Linked DNA regions of Homo sapiens: regions 2, 3 and 4 are each linked to region 1. The links are contacts of gene promoters, found by promoter capture Hi-C in blood cells and fetal thymus (Javierre and others, 2016). All regions are on one chromosome and are shown on one strand. The core of a region is centred on a gene start or on the middle of the fragment in contact, and the rest is flanking DNA. Distances in the headings are between cores, read along the strand shown.

Region 1 (3,703 bases), core at 890-3,389:
AAGGCAGACACAAGAGTAGCCAAAAGTATTGCAATAAAGCAACTTGGGGTGGACTCAACTTGCAGGGGATTCAGATCCCAGGTTTCCAAACCTTTTTGCTATTCCTGGTTCTTTTGCTTTCAGTGAAGAGTAGTTAAGTACAATAGTAGCTCTCATTTACTGACTACTTACAAAGTGATTGGCACTGTTCTTGGTGCTTTGAGCATATTAGCTAATTCTCACAGCACCCTGTAGTACTATACCTATAGGGATGATAAGGGGATGTGGGTGGTGGGGAGGGGGCAGATAAAAAGAACAGTAAATTTCCTAAGTTTAAACTGGAAGAATAGGGATTTCATCCTGGTTCACCTGAGTACAAAGTCTAAGGTTCAATGATTCCTTGACACTGGGTAGCAAGGGAGCATTTCAGGGATGCCTAAGCTTGTGGTCAGGTGCCAACGGTACAAAGATAGAAGTATATCAGAGAGCCCTTGCAGAATAAGGCCCTCCACAGGAGGGTTGTGACCTTGGTACTTGCCTCACTGTGTTTAAATTCAGGTAAGGTAAGAGAATTGAAGAGGTAAAGCTACCTTAGAGAGTATTGCTGCATCTACCCTGGTGACTTACAAGGTACTTGAATTTTTTTTTTTCTAGCAAACTGCTAAAGTTAGCCTTTGCCTTTTTCCCAGAGACTCTCTAGGAATTTTTCCCATCTGCTGACTAGGAGGTAAGCCCGGACCTAAATTTTTGTCTTGTTGTAGGTTAATTAAGACTGGTGTTAGATTCAGCTCCTAAGGCCTAAGAGAATTTAAGGTTGTCTTCTGGGAAGGACACCCAACAGCAGCATTGGAATTGGAAAAAAAGTGTAGGATTTTGCTGAGTGAGCAGGGGGAAAGCAATGTAAAGCCCAAGAGAATATCTTTTGAACAAACGTCCTTTTCATTTTGGTTTAGAAATAGAAACGTGGTAAAAGGAGGCGACTGTTTTCTGAAGGCTTGTAGCACGAAAACAGGCCAACTGGCCAGCAACTAGTTGTCTATCAGTTTCTCTACTCACATACATCTGCCTTTTCCAGACTGCCAGCGCGGAGCACTAGTTTGACTTTGGGTGCTCTTCAAATAGCTGGCATTGATAAGGCATTCCCAGAAGACTGTGTTACTTAGTAATCTTGTCGGTACATTTTTTCACTGGGCAGAGATTTTCCAAACAGAGAGCTGCCAGCTTTCAAGACGTCAGAGTGCTTTTTCATCCTGAAATTGGGTGGGAAAATGGGGAGAAGAAAAGCACGGTTCAGATCAATCAATGAGAGAGAACCCCTCCCTCCATACTCGTTAAACAACAGGTGGTTTTGCTGTGCACCGTCAACTCCTTTATGCGGGAGCTGTAGGCGGGGCATTCCAACTGAGTCTCCCTGGAATCTGCCCCTTAGCCCGTATTGCAGGGGCGGTGCAGTTGGGGATTCCGGCCTGAAAGGAGACTTGGTTGTCAAGGGGCTCAAGGGCTTCATGATCCAAGGATATTGGGTTTTGCTTTTCTCCTTCTCCATCTTCCTCATTCTATCCCACCGTCCCCTCCCCACCCTTCTCTTAGGAGGCCTTCGCTTCTCCTGTGGAGGGGTTATCTTCATCCTGACCCTGGCCTTCGGAGGAGTTCCCAGAAGGGCTATTTTTAGTGGTGGCTGCTCCCCTCTAACTTACCCAGGGGAGGAGCTGCGGTGGCTGAGCCGACGCTGCGCGCACAGCCGCCTGTGGTTTTCCGCGCATTGTGAGGGATGAGGGGTGGAGGTGGTATTAGACGCAGCCGAATCCTCCCTCAGAGTCCGCCAGGTGGGCGTCTCAGGGGTGGGAGTGGCCGCGTCGTGAAGCGGAGAGAGGATTTCTCTCCTGGTCCTGGAGAAGGCCCCCGGCGGCCGGCGGCATCCCTCGCTGGCGAGTCCCGGGAGCGAGGTGGTCTCTGCAGGGGAGGAAGTTCCCGGGCGGCGCGGCCTGCGTCACAGCGGGGCTGGCACCGCGGAGTCGACTCGGCGGGCGGTGGCGACCCCGGGGCCGGGCGCTGGGCGGCGCTGGCTGCCGCTAGCCGGGCTGCGTGCGGGGCGGCGCTGGAGGCGGCTCCGTCCGCGGCCGGGGAGGCGGAGGGGAGGAGGGCTTGCGGGGCTGGGGCGTTAGCTGCGTCCCGGCTGGAAGCCCGCGAAGAGAAGTAGGAGGAAGGCGCCGCCGTGGCCGCGGCCGCAGTGCTCGGGCGCGACAAGCCATGAGCAGCGACCCCGCGGGCGACGCCGCCGTCCCTGGCAGCCGCTGAGCCCGACCCCCAGGCAGCTCGCCGCTCCCTAGCACCTTCTCCAGTCGACACTCTCGCGCCCGGAGGTAAGGGCGGGGGATCCGCGGAGGGATGGAGAGGGGCAGCCCGCAGAGGGCCACCCGCTCGGTCCGCTGTGCGCGCCGGACCGGGACTCGCCCCGCCTCACTCGCGTCCTTGCTTCCCCCCGGCTCTCAGACAGGCAGAATGTGGTTGCCCGCCCGGCGTGTGGTGCTGGGAACCTTCCGCTACTGCGGCTCAGGAGCCCGCCAACCCCTACCCCACCCAATCCGCGCTAGCCCGAGCGGCCGCGCGAGGATCTCAGCCTGGCGCCCAACGCCGCGCCGCAGCGGCAGGTCCTGCAGACTGGGCGCGGGGGTGGGGGGGCGGTCCGCGAGGGGAAATGCGTCCGTGGCCGGGGCGATCGTTGTTCTTTCCTACCTCGAAAATCTCTGAGACCCCGGGGCCAGTCCTTTCCGGTCTATCACCCCCCTGCCACCTCCGAACCCTTGAAGTTAGCACTTTTGGGCAGGGAAAGGAATTGGAAGGTTTCTCGAAGAAACGTGAGAGCACCGTGTGCTCACCTGCAGGACAGGAGGGAAGGGGTTCAGCTTGATCGGGCGGGCCCCAGAAGCCAGGTGTTTAGGCCAGCGGTTGAGGCCAAAACCGCTGCCTTCATCCCACGCCTAGGCTCGCTGATCTTTCCCTTTCCAGCTGGTTCCCACCAATGAGATGATTAGGGATGGAGTTAGCAACTCAGGAGCCTTAGATGTGTTCTGTGGACACGAATGCCTTTCTTTTCTCCCTCAGCCGGTTCTTCCCTCCCCAACCCCCACGCCTGCCCGGTATACAGCAAAGTCCAAACAGTTTCTTCCAAACCTCGCATCCTCCGTAGTTTTGCAACAGCCGGACACCTAGCCCGCATCCTAATGCGGATATTTCAGAGTATTACGGCTAAACTTCCCTTGGTTTCAAATTCCTTAAACATGTTAAAGCCTCAGCAAACGTTAGGAAACATTTTCAGGTTCCCATCCTCAAAGTAAAAAATAAGAACCAATCCATCTTTGTTGGAGTGCCGGTGTTTGGCACGGGGAGGCTTGAATTACCTCCATTTAAAGCAGCCTTTGAAGGAAGGAATAGGTAAAGGAAATCGCAGCCGTTTGTAAGTCACATACTTCTTTCGCGGTAGTGTGAGAAACGTAGCCTTAACCAACAGTCACATTTCCCGACAGGTATGTGATGGTTTCCCAAAGCATCGATGAGGCTTCAGCGTGGGCAGGTCATTAAGATGCCATTTAGACGAAAAAGGAGTAAAAGTGGAGTAGTCCTCTTGGTTAGCACAATGCTGCAAAATCGCCAGAGCCAATAATTTTTATACATTTATAAATTCTGTTTATTTTTAAATAATTTGTTGAAAACCCAAAACGTA
Region 2 (3,703 bases), core at 836-3,335, 380 kb after region 1:
TCTTGGACAATATGCTAATATTTATTGATTTCACAAATTTACAGCATATGGGTGATTTTGGAAGCATTCATAGACCCGGAATTGTTGTTGACTATCAAAACAAATCCACCAATGTGACAGTTGCTGCTGCAAGAGGAATAAAGAGAAAAATGATGCAGCCATTTAATAAGCCCAGTGGAACCTTTATCAAGAAACCCAAACTAGCAAAACCTATGGAGAAGATAAGCCTCAGCAAATCACCCAGTAAGTAAGAAAACATAATTGCTATGATTCAGGATACTTTTTATTTTTTAAAATTCCATACTTTTTGGTAATTTTTTCATGTTTATATACAGAAACTACATAACAATTATGATTGTAGAAGTTAGATCTGTAAATCCCCTATTGCAGTTAATAATTGGTCATGAATACCCAAAGATACTTTTAAAATGTACATAACCTGGTCCATTCCTTTTTCCTGAATCCTTGTGGTTGTGTATCAAACCCTCTACAGCTGAGAAAACAGGCACAGAATAGATAAATAATTTGCTGCCTAAGTCAAACAACCAGTGAATGGTAATGCCAGTATTTATTCCAGAGCAAGTCATGCTCTAGAAGTCCTGTTCTTAAACCTCCATATGATTGTAACAGAAATTTGCTTTGTATTCATTTTTCCCTTTTATTTTAAAATAACTTTTTCCCTAATTATGACATTATAGACATTTTAATATGTAATATTTGAAAAAACTGAAATTGCAATGTTAGATTCTTTCCTCAAAATATATTTTCTATAATATAAAATTTGAAAAAGGTTTAAAAGGTGTACTTAAATTACTTTCTCATCAGGCCTTATTGTTTAATAAGAAACAATATTCTGGAATTTCTGGAGTTCTGGAAACCTGATACTAAGCAGAGTATGTGTTGTGGGGATACCTTTAACAGTGTGTCAATTGATAGACTGTTATGTATCAAATTTGACATTTTATTAGACATTACTATAATAGAAAATTCAGTTGATTCTCTTGGGACCTATTTCAAAGATATATTTTGCACGTATGGTTAAATATTGCAAAAGTTTGATAAAGAAACTGATTTGCCCTTAAAGCAGATATATATGTATCCCTCCCCCATACCCCCTTTTTATATAACAAAACTTGAGAAAAGTGTTGTGTAGCTAAGAATGAAACTAAAATTCTTTAAATTATGCCTTCTCTGTCAGGTGTAAAATGGGCATTTAAAAAGATGATTGCTGAATTTTCCTCAATACAAGGTCTTGCTATGCTATAGTATAGACTATGTGACTTTATAGAAAATTAGTAGGAAAGGAACCCTATTCTGTCACTTGGCTAGAAGTACAACATGTCATAGTTTTAGCATATGAAAGGAAGATTAAATTACTTATTTGAGGTAATATATAAATAAGTAGATTTTTCAAAGGCCATCCAAAAGGATAAGCAGTGCATAAAAGGAAAAATTTAAGGGCAAATAGTTAAGTTTTTTTTTTTTTTTTTTTTTTAAGTATAAAGTTAAATGTATTATAAGAAAGAACCTGCTCACAGTGAGTTACCACTCCATACCCACTTGGATGGTCATAATAAAAAAAGGAAAATAACAAATGTTGACAAGGATATGGAGAAATTGAAACCCTCACACATTACTGATGGGAATGTAAAGCAGTGAAGCCACTGTGGGAAGCAGATTGGTGCTTCCTGAAACAATTAAACATAGACTGTCCATATGATCCAGCAATTCCACTTCTAGGTATTCTTCTATTCCAAAGAATTTAAAGTAGTATTCCAACAAAAATTTATTTATTTATTTATTTTTATTTTTGAGACAGGATCTTACTCTGTTGCCCAGGCTGGAGTGCAGTGGTGCAGTCTTGGCTCACTGCAACCTCTGCCCCTGGGTTCAAGCGATTCTCGTTCCTCAGCCTCCTGAGTAGCTGGGACTACAGATGTGCACCACCACGCCCAGCTAATTGTTGTATCTTGAGTAGAGATGGTTTCGCCATGTTGGCCAGGCTGTCTTGAACCCCTGGCCTCAAGTGATCCATCCGCCTCAGCCTTCCAAAGTGCTAAGATTACAGGCATGAGCCACTGTGCCTGGTCCAAACAAAAATTTATATATGAATGTTTATAGTAGCATTATTCATAATTGCCAAAAGGTAGAAACAATTGAAATATACATCAACAGAAGAATGGTTTAAAAAATGTGGGTTATTCATACAATGGAATATTATTAAACCATAAAAAAGGAAGTACTTACTAATACATGGTACAACATGGGTGAACTGTGAAAACATGCTAAATAAAAGTCAGACCAAAAAGGCAACAGACAGGATGATTCTAGGTATATGAAATACTTAGAATAGGCAAATCCGTAGATCAGAAAGCAGATTAGTGGTTACCAGGGCCTTAGGGTAGGGTTGAAATGGGGAGTGACTGCTTTATGGGATGATGAACAGTTCTGTAACTAGATAGTGGAGATGGTTGCGTAACTTTGTGAATGTACTTAATGCCATTGAATTGCACATTTTAAAATGGTTAAACTAGTAAATCTTATGTTTTGTGTATTTTATCACAATAGAGAATATTTTTTAAAAAAGAGAACAAATTTGCTTTTATTTTGGAGGTTACAAATTTTAAGAAACTTTCTGAGAGCTCCTACAATATGAACATGAGTTCTTGCATCCAGGGCTCTGCAGTGTTTACTGGACTTCCATTTTCATGCTCGGTCAGGTTACTTTAGTGTTTTTCCCAAAGTATGTGATGCCCAAGATGATTTTAGGTGATAAGGATATTATTGCTTAGAATAAGGATAGGACAAATGAGCACATTTAAAGAAAAATATGTAGCAAATAATCACATAGATGACAAGCAGATATGACAGAATTCATGATGATGGTATTCAAATGAATGAAGTTCATTTAGTGAAGTTTCAGAAATACTGGATAGTCTCAAACTCCGATTTTTTTGGTGAGTTCAATTTTAGATTACAATCACTAAGTATACCTCATAAGTATGTACTTTACGAACTGATGATTGGAAAGAGAGAATGGAAAAATGAATTTTAGCTTTTACTTTTTTGTGTAATATCCTAGCAAAAACTGATCCTAAAAATGAAGAGGAAGAAAAGCGGCGAATTGAGGCTCGGCGAGAGAAACAAAGGCGCAGAAGAGAAAAAAACAGTGAGAAATACGGAGATGGATACAGGTTTGTACTTAGAGTCAGAAAATTAGGTTCATTAAAAAATGATTTCCTAGAAAAAGCCAACACATCAATTGTAATATTAAAAAGTTCTTAAGATTCAAATGAAAAGACTTGTTCAAAGATACAGAGGAATGCTTTTGGTTTTTGATATTTATATGTAATCACTACTTAGAAAACATAAGAAAAAAGGCATTCTATTCATATTGGCAATCCAAAAGATATCAAATATTCAGAAATAACAGTATTCTTAAAAAGAAACACTTGTCATTGAGATTTGACTGTATGGAGTCATAGTGATTTTCATGGGCAGGAATTAAATATTACAAATATGTAAGTTCTTTCCAATCCAGATCCCAAAGGAAATTCTGAAGAAGAGTAAATGAGTAGGTACTGGCTTTTATAGATAATCAATCATTAAAAAGCTATAATAGTTAAAAATATGTGGTAATACACAAAGCTAATTATTATACCAGATTAGCCTGTGAACAGACTGTAAGGAAGAATGTAATATT
Region 3 (3,703 bases), core at 566-3,065, 330 kb after region 1:
TCTGAAGTTACTAGCCCTGGACAACCCCTTGTGGTTTCCCGGCACTCCGGTCAGTTTCCTGTTGGAACACTAACCAAAACACTGCCAGTGCATAAGTGACATAAAGCAGGATCCAAAGGACCTGGACTGAGAACAACAGGATGAATCTGACAAGAGGGTATTTAATGAAAAGTATAGATGAAGATGTGGTTACTACACTATTTGAAGCTTTGATTATTGACCGTGAATCAAGAGTTCGGACGATGCACTGCCTCCAAAATAAAATTCTAACTTTATACTGTTCCAAATAGAAAAGTGTTTGCATTCTCTTCCTGTGGTTAGACCACTCTTAGAGTACTGTGTTCAGCTATAAATAACACATGAAAAAGTTATCTGTGTCAAATTACTGTAGATTTTAATGCATCCATTTTACTTCCAGCCCCATCTCTTGGGTACTCAAACATGAGCAAATGGGGGCTATGAAATCAGATAATTTGATAGGTAGACATGGAGCTATTTTAAAAATTGCCTTTCCCTTCCAATTCTTGAGACACTGTTTTTGAACCAAATTGTCACTTCCATTAGAGTAAATTATTTCCCAAGGGACTTCTAGAATCTTTATACACATAGACTTAGTGACTCACCCCACAGTCTTGAAATAAACCCAAACCTATGCACACATTTTAGACTGAAGCCTGATGCACATGAAAGAACTATCCAATAAATAGATTACATCAGAAATTGTCTTATAGGCCTAGTTTTAAGTGTATGGCAAAATTCAAGTTGAGATCAAATAAACAATATCCGAATGTTCATGCTAGAAGTGCCTTTAATATCATTTAATACAAGTCTCTGGTTTTGTAAGTAGGAAGAATGAGGCTGTCTTGCTTAAATTCACGAAGCTAACTGGTGGTAGAACCTAGACAAAAATCTCAGTTTTTTTGCATCTATTCACTGTGCTACATTGCCTCCCTAATAAAATCACACTTCTAAACACCAATTTGGAGGGAACTTGGCAAGTCTTACTATTTTCTCAATGTTTGTTGGCTATCTACAGTGTGATGACACTACCACATTTCCAAGACATTTATATACCTTATTTGAAGCTGAAAAACAGTATTTGTAATGTTTAACTGAGAGATTTTTAAAAAGTTTTCTTGATTTTTCTTACCTATTCATTGCAAAAACATTTATTGAGAAGCTATTATGTGCTAGGCAATGTCCAAAGTACTAAGCAGTGAACAAAGATTAAAAAAAAAAAATCCTTGGCCAGGCATGGTGGCTCACGACTGTAATCCCAGCATTCTGGGAGACCAAGGTGGGTGGATCACGAGGTCAGGAGCTCGAGACCAACCTGGTCAACATAGTGAAACCCCATCTCTACTAAACTACAAAGAAATTAGCTGGGCGTGGTGGCGGGCACCTGTAATCCCAGCTATTTGGGAGGCTGAGGCAAGGAGAATTGCCTGAACCTGGGAGGCGGAGGTTGCAGTGAGCTGAGATCACACCACTGCACTCCAGCCTCGGCAACAGTGTAAGACTGTCTCGAAAAAAAAAAAAAAAATCCTTGCCTTCATAGAACTTACCTTGTAATTCTTATGTTTATATTTGGGGTAGACTTCAAGGGAATTGAGAGAATTCTTGCCCTACTTTTGTGATAGCCAGCATCTAAGATGGCCTCCAGTGATCCTTGCCTCCTGGTGACCACATCCCTGTATAATGCCCTCCCATGCTGCCCATGCATTCTGCATAAGCAACAGAATACTGTAGAAGTGACAGTATGTGACTTTGAGTTTTAGTCTTAAAAAGCACTGCAGCTGTCTTTGCTGTTCTTGCATCACTTCCTTGGGGAAAAGGACCCTCAAACAGCCCTACAGAAGCCACAAGCTGGGAGGAACTGGGATCTCCTGTTAGCAGTCAGCACTCTCCAGCATGTGCATGAGTTGTCCTCCAGCCTCTGTCAAGCCTTCAGATGACCGCAGCCCTAGCTAACATCTTGACTGCAGCCTCATGAGAGACTCCAAGCGAAAACTATCAGCTAGGTTGTTTCAAAATTCCTGAACCTCAGCGACTGTGAGAAATAGTAATGTCCATCATTCTTTTTCTTTCTTTTCTTTTTCTTTTTCTTTTTTTTTTTTTGAGACAGAGTCTCGCTCTGTCACCCAGGCTGGAGTGCAGTGGTGAGATCTCAGCTCACTGTAGCCTCTGCCTCCCGTTTCAAGTGATTCTCCTGTCTCGGCCTCCTGAGTAGCTGGGATTACAGGCACAGACCACCACACCCAGCTAATTTATGTATTTTTAGTAGAGACAGGGTTTTACCATGTTGGCCAGACTGGTCTCGAACTCCTGACCTCAAGTGATCCGCCCACCTTGGCCTCCCAAAGTGTTGGGATTACAACCGTGAGCCACCACGCCCAGCTGTCCATCATTCTTTTACACTACTGAGATTTAGGGTAATTTGTTATGTGGCAGTAGATAATTGACATACCCCATGAGTTTTAGGAAGGTTCCCTACAGAAGAACCATCTGAGAAGCACCTCAATATTAAAAATGGAAAAGGAAGCAACATTTTCCAGCACTTATGAGTTACAAGAAAAGAGAATCAACTCAGTGGAAAATATACATAAAGACCTTGGACGTTCCAAACCCATCATTTCTAATCAAGAGTTCTGTTTTTGGTGCCATCAGAAATTTGGGGCTTTAAAATGTGAGTAGGAAAAGTATAATGGTGGCAGGCGCCTGTAGTTCCAGCTACTCGGGAGGCTGAGGCAGGAGAATGGTGTGAACCCGGGAGGCGGAGCTTGCAGTGAGCCGAGATGGCACCACTGCACTCCAGCCTGGGCGACAGAGTGAGACTCGGTCTCAAAAAAAAAAAAAAAAAAAAAAAAAGTGATACACTTTTATTACATTGGAGAGAGGAAGAGACCCACAGGTGAGGAAAAGACAATCTTCCCAACTCTAATAAAGAAAGCTACTGAAATTAACCTAGGGTGGTTAAATTCAGCAGTGGGCCATGGCAACGGAAAACATTGCAAAAAGTACAACAACTCAGCAGGACTATTTGCCAATAATTTATTTTCATCAAGAAAAGAAAAACATATCCTTGGTAACCTGCCAATTCTCAACAAGCTAATTCACGTCAAGTCTTTCTCTGGGAAAAGAGATAATTAAATCTTTTGAAATCTTTGCTCCCTAACTACAGTGGTCATTAGGGCTGTTCACAAACATTCTTGTTCTCTTTCCTTCCTGACATATGGTGGATCGTAATTTCCCCCATACTTGGAGGCACTGCCATGTGACTTGGCCAATGAAATGTATGTGGAAGCTGTAAAAGTCAAGATGCTTCACCATCTTATCTTTTTGTTGTCATGGCAACCAGCAATATTCCTATAGTGGTCGCTCTGTCAGCCCCAGGTCTGGAGTAAGGATGACAATGGTGTGGAATAAAGCTTCTAGCAGACAATGATAGAGAGTATAATGAATAAGAACTATATCTTCAAGTTTAAGTCATGGAAATTTTGAATTTACTTGTAACTGCAGTGTAGCCCAGCCTAGCCTGGCTGAAATACTGATAAATAACAGAAGTTCATGTTCAACAGTCCTGTTTCTTCAGATGCTGGATTAGCAGCTGTTGGGCTCAGAAAAGGCTACTCCAAAATATGGTGCTTTGACATGCTGAATGGAGGAAGCAGCCTCAAAATTCTCTCTGACCTCCCTGCACCCC
Region 4 (3,703 bases), core at 604-3,103, 300 kb after region 1:
ACTAAAGACAAACACATCAAGTCCAAACTTGTAAATTTAGATTTGCTGAAATACTGATTTATTTCCTGTTTTAATTTAAAGTGCCTCAAGTAAGCACCTCTCACAACAGTTGACTGGTACTGCTGCTCCTGAGCACCTCGTGTCATAGATTTTATACTCTTACAGACTTGGAATGCAGTAGAGGTATGTGGATTTTTAGGGGTTTTGTTTTTTTAAGAATAAGTAACAAGAAATAACACATTTCTTAATAATAGCTTTTTTGACATAGTTTGGAGTTCTGATTATATGGTACATTTTTCTACCAGTAATATAGGGTTGCCAATAAATAGAAAATGTTTTCTAAAAATAAATTTTATTACAACAAAATAAAAATTTTAATGACTTATTAACACAACCTCCAGTATCACCACCATTTGGAAGATAACACAGAATCACAAGTATCATTTAATTTCTTGCCCTTTTCAGTGTTGTTCTGGTGTTGGTGGGAAAATAATAGGAAATGTAGTTCATTGGGTAGGGAAACTCTTACCTTTCCCTATCTTAATGACAAGCTGTATTTTCTGTGTTTTTGTGCAGCTAGGCGTCATAGCCAGACAAATCCTAGGAGAATACACTTTTTAGATAATGATTTCCTTCATTATCTAACTGACCAGTATCTAATCAATCTCAGAAAAATCCAAAAAATTCCCTGCCACCTGTTTAGATATTAGTTGGCAGATGTTTCATAGGCCTTCTACAGGACTCTTCAAGAGAATAGAACAGTTTGGCACTCTGACAAAGTAGTGTCCTCTCGCTACAAAACTGGACTCACTTAAACACTGGACTTTTGTCACTTCTAAGCACAGCTTGAAGGATTTTGCTGATAATGGGCAAAGATGGACTCATATCTTTGCTTTCCTCCCCAGAACTGAACTCTGGGAGTCCTGGTCTGTGGCCAATGGAGGTGAATCTTTGCCTGCCATAGAGCCTGTGAATGCTCTGAGAAGTATTATCACAAATAGAAAAGGCTGCATCCCCTGTAGCTGAGTCAGGAATTGACGCTGGCTCTGGCACCCTGGCCATTCCTTCTCCTCCTCAAAGGCTTGAGGTAGGGGACTAGCTTATTAAACATTTTTAAGCTTAAGTTTGAATAATCAGACAAAAAGCAGTGGCATATTTTCAGTACAGCAAATTCTTTTCTATGCATCTTCCAGTTGTCTCAGCATTCATTAATGTATTCACTAGTGTTAATGATGTACCCTGGTGCCTATCTAATACAAGGAAGTAGGGATTCAGTGTTGGAATAAGTTCTGGCTACATGGAGGTTTATATAGCAAAGTAGAGAGATAAATATTAATTATGTAAATAATAGAAGTGTTTAATTACAATTATAGATGGTGTAGGTCAGGTGCAGTGGCTCACACCTATAATCCCAGCACTTTGAGAGGCTGAGGCAGGAGGATGGCTTGAGCCTGGGAGTTTGAGACCAGCCTGGGCAACATAGCAAGACCCCATCTCTACAAAAAATTTTAAAAATTAGCTGGGCATGTTAGCATGCACTTGTAGTCCCAGCTACTTGGGAGGCTGAGGTGGGAGGATCACTTGGGCTCAGGAGTATGAGGCTGCAGTGAGTTATGATTGTGCCATTGTACTCCAACCTGGTGACAGAGCAAGACCTTGCCTCAAACAAACAAAAAGTGTACAAAATCTGTGTAAATGAATAATGGCAGGGGTGGAGTGAACTTAAAGAAGAGCTTCAGGGAAGTTTTGTAGTTGTAAACGGTCCTGAACATTTCCCTTCCACCAGCCTTGTAGGGCACTGTTCTCCCTGCTTGGTAATGCCACCACCTGAAATTAGCACAGTATTTTTAGAAGGATGCCACTCCATCTTAGTTGTGAGATAAGGAGTCCAGATCTTAGGATCTTTGCTTTTAGGACTGGAAAACTTGTCTTCCCTTTTTTAAACAAAACAAAACAAAACACCTTATTGAAGTATAATTGGCATATAGAAGGCCCTACATCTGTAAGGCCTTTACATATGTACCTTAAATATGGTAGCAAACTACATCTCAATGAGCTGCCTTTCTTAAAACAAGTGTATGTTGTTTTTGAAGGGCAGGGGTGGCAGGATGCCACAGTTCACTTTGCTTTTCAGAGAAGAGCCATTCTGTAGGAACCACAATCTATGAGATAATCCCTAAGTTTGGCCACTGGCAGCCCTGCCCATAGGCTCCTGTTTCCTAAACACTACTTGGGGTTCAGTCACTTAGAACTGGTTGGTGTTAGATGCCTTCAAACAGTATCAAGGGGTACCTCTTTTACCCAAATTTCTGTTGACTATCAGCCCTTACTAATTTCCTTGAACTCTGAAAAGTTCACGGTCAGTTGGTTTAAATGTCACATTCCATACCACTGTTTGCAAATAGGAATACTCAGAGAGTTCCTGAGAAATGCTGACTCATGCAACAGACTTTAAATATACTGGGTTTTGACACCTCAACAACAGAAAAAGAGTTGTGGGCCCAAATAGACTGTCAACCTATGTGTCCTCGTGAATTTATGTTGGCATCGCATGGACCAGACATGGGAGAAAAACAAGTTAGTATGTATAAGCTTTGGCTTAATATTTTCATATCTTTCTACGAAGTCCGTTGAGCACCAATCTGAAGAAGAGTATTTAAAGTCTGTTTTTAAATATGCCATGTCTGGGTGAGTCTCTCAAAGTCTGAAAGAACTTGGTTTCCTTGTGGCTGTTTAATTTTTTCTCACTAGCAGTTAGTTGGCGTGACAGGATTGGCTCTTTCAAGGGTTCAGAAAGATGAGCCAAAATTGTCACAGGGACCTCATTCTTAGTAGTACAGATTTAGTAATTTAATAGTAGGCAGGAAGAGTTCATTCTATAATTCATGGCCAGCAAAGTCCTGACTGTTTGACATTTTTTTAATATAAAGAAAGAAAGCATATTCTTTCTTAATCCGTAATACTTTCTCTGTCTCCCCTGGTCTCTACTTCAACCAGTAACCAAAACTCTATAAGTTGCTGATGGCAGCAAACTCCAAAGTGCCCTTGAGGCCAACGCCCAATAGTTATTTCCATTCACCTTGTTGAATAAAAGCCAGAGTGCTGTCCTCTCGCTAAGATTTCTGCCAGCACTTGCGTCAGTAATTCATTCCAATAAAATGGTCCCTTTATCAACTGAATCCCCAAACAAAGGCTGTACTAACAAAAAGCTCCTTTCATGAAAAAAAGAAGGGGGGAAAAAAGAGCAAGCCCCTGGAAACCAGTTTTCAAAAGTCCTCTAACTTGTGACTGCAACACGAAGAAGTGGCCCCCTCTGATCCTGGCCAGCTGCGGCTCTCTTAAAGGCTCCGGGTATTCAAGGCGGTATCCACTGGGGCACAGGGAAGGCTGAAGCCAAGGGGGCAGAAGGGCAGCAGGCCAGGAACCATCTGCCTCTCAGGCCTGGCCTAGCCTATCCTGGGGTGACAGTCACAGCTGAAATCATGGAAATAAGTCCCTTCACTCACAAAGCCAATAGCAGATGTCCATTCTTCATCCTTGTGTCTCTGGACATAAAATGTATAAACTGTTCCAGGTAAGCATCACCTTTCTTGTGGAAATTCATGGGATTATTTGCTGAGAGTTAATCCTGAAAAGTTTCATCCCATAGTCTCATCCACCCCCTCCTACTGCTGTGGGACCCCTGATGGTAGAAACTTCCCCA

Evidence for each region. The method cuts DNA at HindIII sites, captures the fragments that hold promoters and counts their contacts. A CHiCAGO score of 5 or more calls a contact.
Region 2: a fragment that was not itself captured here is called in contact with the fragment with the promoter of LRRC8C in region 1 in 1 of 17 cell types (erythroblasts); the score reaches 6.1 in erythroblasts.
Region 3: a contact is called between a fragment that was not itself captured here and the fragment with the promoter of LRRC8C in region 1, in 14 of 17 cell types (erythroblasts, megakaryocytes, naive CD4 T cells and 11 more). The highest score is 11.6, in erythroblasts.
Region 4: a contact is called between a fragment that was not itself captured here and the fragment with the promoter of LRRC8C in region 1, in 1 of 17 cell types (M0 macrophages). The highest score is 5.3, in M0 macrophages.

Annotation. Positions count from the first base shown.
Region 1 is chr1:89,630,981-89,634,683 of GRCh38, forward strand. It overlaps LRRC8C (leucine rich repeat containing 8 VRAC subunit C), which reads left to right and starts at 2,140. Exons shown (of 3, transcript NM_032270.5): 1 at 2,140-2,342. LRRC8C-DT (LRRC8C divergent transcript) reads right to left here and starts at 1,914. Exons shown (of 3, transcript NR_033981.1): 1 at 1,677-1,914; 2 at 1,036-1,229. RefSeq lists a silencer at 1,942-2,601 and enhancers at 2,982-3,031, 3,062-3,111. The HindIII fragment of the contact is 6,667 bases long and covers 419-3,703 here.
Region 2 is chr1:90,010,044-90,013,746 of GRCh38, forward strand. It overlaps ZNF326 (zinc finger protein 326), which reads left to right. Exons shown (of 12, transcript NM_182976.4): 6 at 45-243; 7 at 3,083-3,194. Among named protein-coding and RNA genes, the nearest start is that of ZNF326, 17 kb to the left of the region's middle. The HindIII fragment of the contact is 9,650 bases long and covers 1-3,703 here.
Region 3 is chr1:89,962,260-89,965,962 of GRCh38, forward strand. It overlaps LOC105378847 (a long non-coding RNA gene), which reads left to right and starts at 2,898. Exons shown (of 3, transcript XR_001738142.2): 1 at 2,898-3,703. The HindIII fragment of the contact is 3,221 bases long and covers 206-3,426 here.
Region 4 is chr1:89,936,067-89,939,769 of GRCh38, forward strand. LRRC8D (leucine rich repeat containing 8 VRAC subunit D) reads left to right here. Exons shown (of 3, transcript NM_001134479.2): 3 at 1-545. Among named protein-coding and RNA genes, the nearest start is that of ZNF326, 57 kb to the right of the region's middle. The HindIII fragment of the contact is 1,474 bases long and covers 1,117-2,590 here.